Linked DNA regions of Homo sapiens: region 2 is linked to region 1. Evidence: promoter capture Hi-C in 16 types of primary human blood cells and fetal thymus (Javierre and others, 2016). All regions are on one chromosome and are shown on one strand. Each heading gives the region's core, a stretch centred on a gene start or on the middle of the fragment in contact. The rest is flanking DNA. Distances are from core to core; before and after follow the strand shown.

Evidence for each region. The method cuts DNA at HindIII sites, captures the fragments that hold promoters and counts their contacts. A CHiCAGO score of 5 or more calls a contact.
Region 2: a fragment that was not itself captured here is called in contact with the fragment with the promoter of HAUS5 in region 1 in 2 of 17 cell types (M1 macrophages and total B cells); the score reaches 6.0 in M1 macrophages.

Annotation. Positions count from the first base shown.
Region 1 is chr19:35,609,041-35,615,953 of GRCh38, reverse strand. It overlaps HAUS5 (HAUS augmin like complex subunit 5), which reads right to left and starts at 3,219. Exons shown (of 19, transcript NM_015302.2): 1 at 3,062-3,219; 2 at 2,162-2,224; 3 at 2,054-2,086; 4 at 1,895-1,919; 5 at 807-912; 6 at 568-727. The coding sequence starts at 3,159. It overlaps HAUS5-DT (HAUS5 divergent transcript), which reads left to right and starts at 3,290. Exons shown (of 2, transcript NR_186318.1): 1 at 3,290-3,336. RefSeq lists enhancers at 3,082-3,341, 2,930-3,485. The HindIII fragment of the contact is 7,658 bases long and covers 1-6,913 here.
Region 2 is chr19:35,083,643-35,090,555 of GRCh38, reverse strand. It overlaps HPN-AS1 (HPN antisense RNA 1), which reads left to right. Exons shown (of 4, transcript NR_024562.1): 3 at 3,456-3,600. It also overlaps the pseudogene LOC100420797. Among named protein-coding and RNA genes, the nearest start is that of HPN-AS1, 19 kb to the left of the region's middle. RefSeq lists enhancers at 1-34, 4,068-4,177, 4,288-4,337, 5,624-6,438. The HindIII fragment of the contact is 229 bases long and covers 4,308-4,536 here.

The DNA.
Region 1 (6,913 bases), core at 1,970-4,469:
CTGTCCACTCCTTCGACCTCACCTCCTCAGGTTCTCGGTCTTGCCTGAGAAACTTGAGCTGACATTGGCCTCCGGGCTGCTCTTCCTGCATGCTGAGCACACCACCTCTGCTCTTGCTATTCCTTCTCCACAGAAATTCCTCTTCCAACTCAATGTCCCCTCCTCAGAGGCCTTCGCTGACCACCCTCGCTAGGGCAGCATCTCCCTCTCCCTTCTATGATAGGCTTTTCTTCACAGCACTCATCTCTACCAGAAATGATAGGGTCTGTTTGGTTCCTACTTTACTATCTGTCTTCTCTGTGTCACAGCATAAGCTCCAGGAGGGCAGGGACATGTTCTCTGTTTGTGGCTGTTTCCCCAGGGCTGGTGTTCTAGGTATACAGGTGGTATCATTCTAGGCACTGAAAATACAGGTGACTGAGATGACAAAACCTCCTGGCCTCATGGACATTCCATCCTAATGGTTCCAGAATTCTGGAACCCAAGAAGGGATCAGGGCAGAGCCCTGAGGTCTCTAAGAGAATGTCTGGCCACCCAGCCTGGTGAGGGTGGGTCCCTGAGGCCCACCTCTCCATGTCCTGCAGGCGCCTCAGTTGATTCTGCAGCCGCTGCATGGGATCTCGGAGCGTATGCTGCTGTCTTCGCATGGCCCCAGCTTGGGCCCGGAGGAGGAGAGCTCGACGCTGGGTGTCTTGAGTGTGCTGACGTGCCTGCTCCATGGCCGTGTCTGTGGGAGGAACAGGGGTGGCCATCAGCACCTTTCCCGCCCCACATTCTGGTGCCCATCTTCTGGCCCCATGGCTCACCCTGAGCCTCAGTGTCTCGCTCCATCAGCTCCAGGCTCTGGTCGAGTTCCTGGATTTCTGCCCGCAGGCGGGTCACAGCAGCTTCCAGCTCTAACTTCCGACGGACCTGGGAGGATCAGATTCAGGGTCAGATGGTCTGATCGGGGCTCAGCCTGGCCTGTCTTTTGGGGGTACCAGGCTCCTCAACTGGTGGCAGAGGGTTTTTGCTCAGCAGTTTCTGTGTCTGACACAGAAGCATTAGGGTATTGGCTCCCTCCCTCCTTCCTCCTAGGATTGTCTTACCCACACTTCCAGCCTGTTTCCTGTCTGTGCTGGTGACAACCACATCTTTGTCCCAGTACTGATCTCTTCCCGGAGCCCTGCACCTAGAAGTCCCAAGGCCTCCTGGAAGCCTCCCCTTAGGTGTCATATGAGCCCCTTGCACCCATTGGGTCCCACACTGGCCTCAGCATCTCTCCCATACCTGTCCCATCATCTCTTCTCACCAGCTTTGATGCCACATATCCAGGTCCCACCTCTCTGCGCCCAGCTAATTAATGCTCTTTATTTATTTTTTCTTTTTTTGAGATAGAGTCTCGCTCTATTGCCCAGGCTGGAGTGCAGTAGTGCGATCTCAGCTCACTGCAACCTCTGCCTCCCAGGTTCAAGCGATTCTCCTGCCTCAGCCTCCCAAGTAGCTAGGATTACAGGCGTGTGCCACCACGCCTGGCTAATTTTTTATTTTTATTAGAGACAGGGCTTCACCGTGTTGGCCAGGCTGGTCTCGAACTCCTGACCTCAGGTGATCCGCCTCCCAAACCACATCTTTGTCCCAGTACTGATCGCTTCCTGGAGCCCTCAGGTGATCTCATCACCTGAGATGAGGCCTCAGGTGAGCCTCCCAAAGTGCTGGGATTACAGGTGTGAGCCACTGCACCTGGCTGAGCTAATGCTGTTTCCACTGGACTTTAAGCCCTATGAGGATGGAGATCAAGGCTGTCTTGTGACCCATTGTCCCCAGCATCACCCAGCACCTGGTTGGGCTTAGAGCAGAAGATCTACAAGTCATTTTTCGGATGAAAGAGAATCTTGTAGCATATGCTTCTCACCTGTGGACTGTCCTGGTGGCCATACCTAGGAAAACGAGGCCAGAGTCAGCGGATGAGTGGGGCTTCTAGGGGGGAGGGCAATAGGTGTGATGCTGTGGTGGGGACAGGGCTAAATGGGAGTGGGGAAGACAGGAGGGGATAGCTTTAAGAAGCAGTTACCAGAGTAGGTTTCCCCGGATCTTCTTGACAGTCCTACAGTGCAGAGGCAGAAAGAGGAGTTACTATGGGCCTCACCTGTGCCCCCTCCCCTGCTCTAGCCCAGCTTACCTCTGACTGTGCACATGCTGCAAGATGTAGGCCCAGATGTCAGCCCCCTGGCCCAGACACAGCCTGTGGGGACAGTGTGTAAGCATATGCCTGGGGCAGCACACAGGGTGTGGGATCCTCATTCCTAGGGTGATGGTGGTAGGGAGTTTTTACTAGGGAGTTCTCACTTCTTGAGGAGGGAAGGCCCAAACTTTTTTTTGCCTTTTTTTTTTTTTTTTTTTTAAGAGACAGTCTCGCTCTGTCGCAGTGGTACGATCATAGCTCCTTGCAGCCTCAACCTCCTGGGCTCATGCGATCCTCCCACCTCAGCCTCCAGAGTAGCTAGGACTACAGGCAGGCACCACTACACCCGGCTAATTGGTAAAACATTTTTTTTGTAGGGACTGGATGTTTGCACTAAGTGTGGTGTTATTCTCATTCCCTGGGAAGGCGGGTGGTGGGGGAGCGCGGGAGAGGCGGGTGCTCCCTTTCTCCTGGGAGTGGGTTATCCCAGTCACATCCAGAGGTGGAGGTGGGGGATGTACTGCCAGGAAGTGCCATCTCATGACCAGACGTGGGGCATCACTCCTACAGCTTCAATCCCCGATGGGGTGGCCACGGCTAACTCCTGAGTGTCCTTCTTGGTTAGGTTAAGGGAGGGAGGGGAGGTGCTGCGGGGACAGCCTCACTCTGGAGATCCTATTTCCATAAGGAGCGAGGTCTTAGCTAACTCGTGGAGGATCCTCACCAGTGCTAGGGACCTCACTCTGGGGAGCCTCCCAGGGTAGGGAGCCCTCAGTAAGTCGGGTCACTCTCGATGGGGAATTGGGGGGAGTCGAGTCCTCAATGAGGGGTGGAGTTCTCACTCCCGGAGACTCAATCTCCAGGGTGGGGTGTCCTCACTCCAGGAGCGGTCCTCACCTGCGCAGCGTCGATTCCGGGGCCCGGGCCGCCACGGGCACCCCCATCTCTTCGACCGCCCAGCAACCCAGTTCCCGCGCTTCCTGCGCTAGCTCCATGACAGCGCCGCGGCGGCGACACCGCCTCCCTCAGCCTCTTCAAGTGTGGCGCCCGCCTCTGACGTCACGGGCGCGCCAACAGTGACGTCATCGGTTGCCGGGCAGACAGCGGGCTCGGGCGCTGCATAGTAATCTTAGCGCGGTCAGGCTGGGTCTTGCAGCGCTCACTCTTCCCAGGTAGGTCTCCTTGAGTGGAAATGAAAAGGGCGTGGAGAGACTGCAGCCCCGCCCGCCTTCCCTCGTTCTCCCGCTCACTACCAGCTAACCCGAAAGAGGCAAAACAGTCCTTGATGCTTCCATTTATTTTCTTTTTCTTCTTTTAACTAAACACTTTTATTTTAATAGAGATGGGATCTCACTTGTTGCCCAGGCTAGTCTCAGCTTCTGGGCTCTTGAACTCCTGGGCTCAAGCGATCCTCCCGCCTCGGCCTCCCAAAATGTTGGGATTACAGGCGTGAGCCACCACGCTCACCCCCTTTATTTTCTTGACAAAATGGGACTTGCGTCCTAGGAGGACTGGAACCAGGCAATGAGATCCTGGACTTACTGCTCTTTGATTTCAGAAACAGGTGTCTCATGTCTGAGTGGAGGGTAGGGGCAGAGAGCATGACCCTAACATTTCCCTGGCATGCGTTTTCCCATTCATTCGTGCTTACCATTCCATAAACTCAGGGAGCTGACCCTGTGCTGGGTGATGCTGGGGACACCATGGTGACCACAACAGCCCTGGTCCCTATTGTACGGAGCTCACAGTTGAGTGGGGAGACAGACGCACCACCAGGTAGGGGTGGTAAAAATAAGCAGCAGGGGTGGGTCAATTTGGGACACAGCAGGTGTGAGAGGTCTGCGCTAGACCAGCAGTCCCCAACCTTTTGAGCATCAGGGACTGGTTTCATGGAAGACAATTTTTCCACAGTCTGGGGGATGGAGGGTGGGAGCAGTGGATGGTTTCGGGATGAAACTGTTCCACTTCAGGTCGTGAGGCATTATATTCTCTGTCTCTCTCTCTCTTTTTTTTTTTCTTCCCTGTTTTTTTTTTTGAGGTGAAGTCTCCCTCTTTCACCCAGGCTGGAGTGCAGTGGCCCGATCTCGGCTCAGCGCAATCTTTGCCTCCGGGGTTCAAGCGATTCTACTGCCTCAGCCTCCTGAGTAGCTGGGATTACAGGCGCCCGCTACCATGCCCAGCTAATTTTTGTATTTTTAGTAGAGACGGGGTTTCACCATGTTGGCCAGGCTGGTCTTGAACTCCTGACCTTAAGTGATCAGCCCATCTCAGCCTCCCAAAGTGCTAGCATTACAGGTGTGAGCCACCATGCCCCGCCTAAGCATTAGATTCTCATAAGGAGTGCGCAATCTAGATCCTTCGTATGCACAGTTCACAATAGGGTTTGCGCTCCTGTAAGAATCTAATGCCGCTCCTGATCTGGCAGGAGGTGGAGCTCAGGCAGTGATGCTCACCCATACGCCACTCACCTCCTGCTGTGCAGCCTGGTTTCTAACAGGCCATGGACTTGTATTGGTTCACGGCTTGGGGTTTGGAGACCCCTGCCCCTGCCCTAGATGAAATACTTCTCTGATGCTGACTAACCAACCATGCTTAAAAGCAAGGCCCGAAAGGATCAAGCTATTATTTAGCTGCATTCCAGAACAAAATTCAAGAATATTTATAGAGATTAAAAAAAATCCAGCATCCAACACTGTAAAATTAACAATATCTGACATCAGTAAAAAATTATAAGGCAATGGCTGGGCGTGGTGGCTCATGCCTGTAATCCCAGCACTTCGGGCGGTTGAGGTGGGAGGAATGTTTGAGGCTAGGAATTTGAGACCCACCTGGGCACCACAGCAAAACCTTGTCTCTATTAAAAATTAAAAAAAATTAGCCAGGCGTGGTGGTGCACGCTTGTAGTCCCATCTACTTGGGGGGTTGAAACAGGAGGATCAGTTGAGCCTGGGAGGTTGAGGCTTCAGTGAGCTATGATGGCACCACTGCACTCCAGCCTGGGTGACCCTGTCTCAAAGCCAAAACAAAACCAAACCAAAATAAAATAATCATCTGTATTCATGTTTCATAATATCCTCAATGGGTTTGTGCCTTTTTGGTACAGCTGTCAAGCAGCTCAAGAAAGTCGTGGGCTTTATCCGCTTAATGTAAGTGGCCGCTCTTGACTCTGGTTCCCAGGAAGACCTTCAACCTGGCCCCAGCCAAAAAGGCTACAAGCTGGCCCCCAAGAACTCACACAGCTTTTCCCAGTTCAGATGGCCCCAGGATAGCATGCCCACCAGCTTCCAGGAATCACTGTGGTTACTGTGCCCAGGTGCCTGAACCTCACAGTGCTGTGCATGGGGAGAAGCCTCTGCTGGGTGCTGACCTACCAGACAAGGATGGGCCAATTTAGGTAAATGGGAATGAGGAAGGAATGCCCGGCCCCAGAAAACCTCCCTCGAAGTTCAGATGACCATAGGAAACTCCCTGATAATGCAACTGCTGTGACTGTCACCTGCGTCTCAGTAGCTCACTGCAGGCACCTGGTCTCACTTCCTCCAGTCTGGCACAGCTTGTTACATCACCCAAGACAATGAAGGAAAAAGTGACCCCTTCAGAGGAAGGCCCTGAGCACTTAGGGTGCTTTCTGCCCCAGGGACCCAGGGTGAATCCCACGAAAGCCAGTTGTCTGGTTAGTGGTAACAGCACAGTGCAGGTGGACAGTCCCAATGTCCCATTGTTATGCTGGTGCTCAGCAGATGGTGAAGAACCTCCAGGCATGCCCCACAGCGGTCCCTGCTGCCTGCTTCCTGGCTGGGGTAGGACACACCCCTGTGACTTCCTTTCCTGCTATGTCTCTGCCCATCCTGCCCCAAACACACATGTAGATATGACCGGGTCTCAGACTGCAAAGTCAAGAGAGAGGAGGAAGTTCTCAGTAACATGCAAGGCGTGCCCTACCGCCATGATTTGGAAAGTTTCACCAGTCTCTGCTTTGAGAAGACTTGATCTGTCCCTGTGATTTGGTCACAATTGCCTTTGGACTGAGACACCACCAAAGGACAATGGATGGCCTGCACCCCCAGGAGCAGTCACCCGGGGTGCCTGTCTGGGCAAGTCTCATTCTCATTGCTACCTGGGCTTTCTCGTTTGTTTGTTTGTTTGTTTGTGAGATGGGACCTCACTCTGTTGCCCAGGCTGGAGCCATGGCCCGATCACGGCTCATCACATGCTGGAACTCCTGGGCTTAAGTGATCCTCCTGCCTCAGCCTCCTTAGTAGCTGGGACTTGAGCCAATTCTCCCAGCTAGATTTTTTTCAGTTTTAATTTTTTGTAGAGACGGGGTCTCGCTATGTGGCCCAGGCTGGTCTCAAACTCCTGGCCTCAAGCAGTCCTCTCACCTTGGCCTCCCAAAGCACTGAGATTACAGGCATGAGCCATTATACCTGGCCACTTTCTGCTTTTATTTATTTATTTTTTTTGTGACAGAGTCTCCCTCTGTCGCCCAGGCTGGAGTGCAGTGGCACAATCTCGGCTCACTGCAACCTCTACCTCTTGGGTTCAAGCAATTCTCTGCCTCAGCCTCCCAAGTAGCTAGGATTACAGGCATGCACCATCATACCCGGCTAATTTTTGTATTTTTAGTAGAGACGGGGTTTCACCATGTTGGCCAGGCTGGTCTCAAACTCCTGACCTCAAGTGATCCACTTGCCTCAGCCTCCCAAAGTGCTGGGATTACAGGTGTGAGCCACTGCACCTGGCCTCACT
Region 2 (6,913 bases), core at 3,173-5,672, 530 kb after region 1:
GTCAGAGATTCACATTTGGATCTAACATAGGTGGGTTAGAACCTGGTTTTAGGGGTGTCTTGATCCCCAGGATGGTATCGGACAGGCTTTTGTTGCCTGTTGGTTGAGCAAGAAAGCGGCACCTTCCACCCCCACCCCGTAGAACATGACCTGCCCCGATTGCGCCCCTAATGTTGGAACCAGCTAGGAACCCTTAATGGGCAAGCATTAGGGGCCAGCAAAGCTTTGGTGCAAGGGAGGAAAGCCGGATGTTTTAGGAACGATCAGAAAAATCTGAACATGGACTAGGCTTTTCATGATATCTGGGAATTACTGCTTATTTTGTTAGGTGTGAGCAAATCACAGCAGGTTTTTTTGTTTGTTTGTTTTGTCTTTGTTTTTTGAGACGGAGTTTCGCTCTTGTTGCCCAGGCTGGAGTGCAATGGCGCAATCTTAGCTCACCGCAACTTCCGCCTCCCAGGTTCAAGTGATCCTCCTGCCTCAGCCTCCCGAGTAGCTGGGATTACAGGCATGCAGCACCACGCCGGCTAATTTTGTATTTTTAGTAGAGACGGGGTTTCTCCATGTTGGTCAGGCTGGTCTCAAACTCCCTACCTCAGGTGATCCGCCTGCCTCGACCTCCCAAAGTGCTGGGATTACAGGTGTGAGCGTGAGCCACGCGCCCGGCCACAGCAGGTTTTTTTCTTTTTAAAAGTCCTTATCTATTAAAAAAAATAATGCTGGAGTATTTACAGGTTTACACGTTGTCTGGGATTTGCTTTACACAAAATAAATCAATAAGGGAGGGGTGGAGGTGGACACAGGTCGGCCACAACTTGGCTGTTGTTGAGGCTGCCTTCTGGGTACAGGGGCATTCAATAGGCTATTCTCTCTACTTTTATGTTCAAATTTTCCATAATAGTTAAATAAGAAAGAAAGAATTAGATGATATGGCTAGTAATAAAACTTCTTTTGTCTCTGGAGAAAGAAAGTCTTAGTTCAAGTCTCAACTCTGTCTGTTGTGATTAGCAGTAGACAAATGGCTTTACCTCTGTGAGCCTCTGTTTTCCCAAATGTAAAGTGGGAATAATAACAGTCATTGCCTCTCACTTGCAGGGTGTTTCTGAGACAGTGGCGGCAAGAGGTACACAGAGCCTTCGGCCCCATGCCTGGGACATTGTAGATGTTCAATAAGTATTAGCAGTTGTTGGGATTATTATTGTGGCATCTCAGGTCAGGCATTCTGAGGGTGGAAAAGGACATCCCCTTGACAGGGGGCCAGGGATCCAGTCAACCCAGGGTGGTATTCAAAATACATAGCGGGCTGGGTGCCATGGCTCATACCTGTAATCCCAGCACTTTGGGAGGCCGAGGTGGGCGGATCACCTGAGGTCAGGAGTTCGAGACCAGCCTGGCCAACATGGTGAAACCCCATCTCTACTAAAAATACAAAAAATCATCTGGGCGTGATGGCGGGCACCTGTAATCCCAGCTACTTGGGAGGCTGAGGCAGAAGAATAGTTTGAACCCGAGAGGAGGAGGTTGCAGTGAGCTAAGAACAAGTCACTGCACTCCAGCGTGGGTGACAGAGTGAGACTCTGTCTCAAAAAAAACAAAAAACAAAAAAAAACATAACAGTCGGTAGCATACAGGCCCCCTACCAATCCACATGCGTCCAGCTGGAGCCTAGGAGGAGAACCTGGAAGGCCTTCCTGTGCTGGAATTGGGAATATGGGAAGTGGTTGGGGCACTCAGGCAGCCCAGGAGTACAGAAGGATGTCAGTCTGTGTGTGGCCATACAGAGCATGCAGATGAATTCCTGCCCTGCTCAACCATGACTCACCACAGAAGGAAGAATTCCTCTAGTGCCTGATGGTGATGTTGGCGCCCTGGCAGATGGCGGCATATGTCTGCAGGGCCAGGCAGAGGATGTGGTCATCATCCCCAGCAAGACACAAATCATCGACACAGCTGGAAACATATGGGTCTGGGTTGATCTCCCAGTGGCAGTGGCTGAAGGGTCCTGGGGGTCCTGCAGGAGCCAGCACTGCCTCCTGGCTGACACAATCTGCCCCTGGTCATTGCAGACTGAGACTGGACAGGCAGCCCCACAGCTGTCCCTACAAGCCTTGCTCTGCTTCTCCAAGGTAATGTCAGCCTTAGCGTCCTCACTGGGGTTGCAGTTGAAGTTGCCTCAGAGCCCACAGGTGTGACCCTTGTAGAGGTGGGGCAGGGTGAGGGTAAGGCTGTAGGTGAGATCTGTGCTGAGCCAGAGGCCAAAGTCTGACTGCAGCAGGGAGAAGAGGCCATTCCAGTGGACGGCAAGGCTGCCCCCATTCAGGCTTACGGGGAGGGCTGTTGTCTCACCATTCACCTAAGGAGCAGGCAGAATCAAAGGAAGGCTCGGGAGCATAGGACCACAGTTGGGTCAGTGTTGCTTGGCACATAGTAGGTGTTCAAATACGTGAAAAATGTTGATTTTTTTTGATATAGGGTCTCACTCTGACCCTCAGGCTGGATGCAGTGGCACAATCATGGCACACTGCAGCCATGAACTCCTGTGTTCATGCGATCTTCCCACCTCAGCCTCTTAAGTAGCTGGGACTATAAGCTGGGACTATAAGCGTGCGCCAACACACCCACCTAATTCTTTTTTAGATACGGGGTCTCGCTATATTGCCTGCTTGAGACAGGCTGGTCTTGAACTCCTGGGCTCAAGGGATCCACCTGCCTTGGCCTCCCAAAGTGTTAGGATTACAGATGTAAGCCACCGTACCAATACATGTAAAACATTTTTAGATGAAGGAACAAGGACATAACTATAATAGTGACCATCTCTTGTTTTATCCTGTTCTGCATTCATTTCTCCTTTCTCTGGATTTCCCTGAGAACTCACCCCTCCAAAATCAATCCATGTGGTTCACAGAAAGTCAATCCTATCCTAACTTCCAGCACATGACCCAGGCCCAGCCAATCAGCTAGTCCATCAGGGATTCAGGGGTGGTCACATGACTCAAGCTGGGCCAGTGAGGGACACTTTTCCTCCAGTGACATTTGCTAACCTGGCAGCTGTCCTTGTCCCTACAAGGTGGGATGGGATGGTGCCTGTCTGAAAATGAAGGAAAGGAGAGCCCAGAAATTGAGACAGATTTGAGACATATTGTTCAAGCACCTGGGTCCAGCTATGCCTGAATCCATACACCTGTAGATTTTTTTTTTCAATTGTGTAAATCAGTAATTCTTTTTTTTCTTAAGCTGGTCTGAGAGTGTTTCTGTTATATTAGCTGAATGCATCTGATGGATATAGTCAAAAATGGGCATATAATCAGAAAATAGAGGTAAAATGTAGAAATAATGGAGACAGAATAAGTTTTTCCCTTGGGCCTATGGGTTTGGGTGAAGGGTTGGGGTTCCTAGAAACGACACGTCCCAAAGCTGGTGCTTATCTGAGCCATGCCTGGGCTGTCCCTCCGCAGGTGGACCTGGGTCCCATTAACCTGGACAGACACCTCCAAGATGAGCATGAGGGGGCTGCTGGATCTGTTCTCCTTTCACAGCTGTATCCTGAAGAATGGCAGTGAGCCGGAAGAGCCACAGGATTCGGCAAAGACGGACACACAGGTACCTGAGAACTCAACAGTTTTCCCATCAAAGGTGATGATGTGTGAGTGCCCGGCTGCTTGGCAGGTGCCAGGGGAGAATGGGTGGCACCCAAAGATGCCCCTTAGGGTCCCACATCTCTGCCCTGGCCCACAGGAGGAGGGGGAGCAGCACACAGCATGGGTGGAAGCCTCGCAGTGGCAGAATTGCTCACAGTGCTCCCTAGCCCAGAATGGCTCCCCGGCCAGGTGGTATCTGCCCCCCATGGAGCAGCTGCACTGGATGGGGGTCAAGCAGTCCGTGCCACTGAGCACAAATCCTGGGTCACACTGGCAGCCATCCTGGCATGGTGTCAGACAGCTGTCGGGCAGGGCAGGCTCGGTGCAGGAGCTGGGACAGGAGAAGCCACACAGCTCGTAGTGGCTGTCGGGGGGCCAGGTCAGCTCTGGAGGAACACAAGTCATTCAATGCAAGGATGTCAACTCACTGCCCCACGTTCAAATTATGTTCCCTGCTATCTCCCCAGAGCCCAGCTCACGGCAAACCTCAATGGATATTTGTTGGAAGAATTAATGAATGTGTCGAAGCCTTTTCTATAGCACATATTTGTTCAACTTTGGCATCCACTACATGCCGGGAACATCCCAGGGCCTGGGGACACAGCAATGACCAAGACAGAGATCCCTGACCTCATAAAACAGATGTTCTAGGGCAGACGTTGACAAGCTTCACCCTTGGGCCCAAATCTGGCCCTCCACCTGTTTTGGCACAGCCTACAATCTAAATAGTCTTTACATGTTTAAGTGGTTAGAAAAAAAGAAACCAAAAGAGGAAATTTTGTGAGGTGTGAAAATCATGTAAAATTCAAATTCCGGTGTCTATAAATAATGTCTTCATGAAAGCCAGCTCGCCGGTTCGTGTATTGTCTATGACTGTTCTTATGTTACAACAGAAGCTTTGAGTAGTTGTGGCAGAGTGTGGCCCTGAAAGCCTAAAATATTTATTATCTGGCCTTTTATCATAAAAGTGTGCTGGCCTATTCTAGAGGGGGGAAATGGGCGACAAACTAGCAATAAATAAAAGATAATTTTGGATTGAGAAACTGGGTTAGATCTGTGTTACCCAGCTTTAGGTAGCGCAGAGTGGCTGAGCCCCATGGGCTGATTTGAGGACAGTGGCTAGGGAGGCCTCTCTGCAGAGGTGACATTGGAGCTGAGGCCTGAATGATGGAAGGAGCCAGCCGTGTGTACGTCTGGGAAAGAGCATTCCAGGCCGGGGGAACAGCAGATGCAAAGACCCAGGGGTGGGAAGGCATTTGGCGTGGTCCAGGGACAGCAGAGAGGCCAGTGTGGCTGGACCCTCGGTGTGGAGTGAGCTAGACAAAGCCAGTGTAGGAGGAGGCAGGGTGAGCAGAGAGAGGCCGCTGTGGGGGCCTCTTAGGAGGAGGCTTGGAGGTCAGTTTTCATCCCAGAGGTAAGGGGGACCCAGGGATGCTTTTAATCAGGAATCTGATGAGATCTGACCTATGCTTTTTCATTTTTTTTATGTTTTTGAGACAGAGTCTTGCTCTGTCACCCAGGCTGAAGTGCAGTGGCACCATCTTGGCTGACTGCAGCCTCCACCTCCACCTGGGTTCAAGCGATCCTCCCGCCTCAGCCAGTGCACACCACCACACCCAGCTAATTTTTTTTTTTTTTTTTTGTATTTTCAGTAGAGACAAGGTTTCACCATGTTGGTCAGGCTGGTCTTGAACTCCTGACCTCAAGTGATCCACCCACCTCGGCCTCCCAAAGTACTGGAATTACAGGTGTGAGCCACTGTGCCCAGCCCTAACCTATGCTTTTAAATGCCTTATGGTAGGTTCTGGTGACACACTGGTGACCAAGAGAGACCCCATCCCTAACCCTTGTCTTTGGGGGTTTCACAGATCAGGGGAAAAACATACTGGAGGAGAGATTGCTGGGGAGGGTTTTGTGTGTGTGTGTGTGTGTGTGTGTGTGTGTGCGCTGGCGGAGTGGGGGTGTCCCCCAGTCTCAGGATTAATAAAGAAAGTCAGAAAAGGAGAAATGTCCTGGGTGGGATGTGGGAGATATTCCAGCTCAAAGTTCATCTTAATTTGAGCACCCAGAGTCTGGGGGCTGGAGGAGACACCTGCACCCTTCCTGGATGGGTTTCCTGGATTCCTGCTGCCTGGAATGTCCCCCCGCCTCCCCGCTCCCCCAGCCAGCTCGGCTCCCTTTTCCACCACCTTCAGTCTCCACTCCCAGGGCACCTCTCTGCACCCCAGGGAACCCTAACCCCCCAGTTTAATACTGCATGCCCCTTCTCCAGCACTCCCCAGCCCTGCCCCGCCTGACTTACTGTTTAATCACCTACTTACTGGCTGGGTTGACTGATTGTCTTCTCCACTGGAATGTCGCCTCCATGAGGGCAAGGTTTTGTCTGTTTGGGTCACTGCTGTGTCTGCAGCGCCTAGAATGCTGCCTAGCACTTAGTGGGTGTTCAGTTAACCTTAGTCAAAGTGTGTGATGCCCCCGGGGCTTGTCTCTGGCTTTGGGAGGAGGGGTGGGCCAGGCAGGCCAGAGGCCAGAGCACCCACCACCAGTCCCTTGTGTTGGCCTTCGGAGCTTGCAATGGGCTGTTTCCTTTGGACAAAGAGAGGTTTTGTTTGCAAGATGCTGAACTTGCTTCCTGCTCTGAGAGGAGTGAGGGACTAGGGGCAGAGAAAAGGAGTTGCGCCTTGGGGTCCTGGAGGTTAGAGGCCCAGTCCTTCGGGATAAAGTCCTCACTTCTTGCCTGCCATTCAAGGCCCCACAGACACAGCCCAGGACCATGTCTCTCTCCAGGCTCCCCCATCTCTGGCTCAAATTTACACAGTCTCTGGGCTTCTGAAAACCTTGTTCCTTCTCCCTAGAACATTTGGCTTCTCCTTGCTTACCTATTGGCTTTGACTTGTCATTCAAGCCTCAGCTCTCGTGGCCCTTCCTCTGGGAAACTTGGCCTGACTTTCCAGGCTGGGCCAGCCCCTCCTCTGTGCTCCCCTGTGGCCCTACGCTTCCCTCATGTGAGCCCTGATCACTCTGCCGTGGCTGCCCCACCACAGACTCGGCCACCCTGGCAGCGTGTGGGCCCTACGAGGTCAGAGACCCGGCACTTCTCAGTCCTGCCCTGGCCCCTGCATCACCCAGGGCAAGATCAGGCCCAGGGGGACCCCTCCCTGCCACTCCCCAGCTGTGCGGCTCTGTGTCTGCTCTTCATCTGTGAAATGGTCGCGTTGTCCCATTCACACCAAAGGGATAAAAAGATGGCTCAGGACCCATCTCAGCTGCCTGCT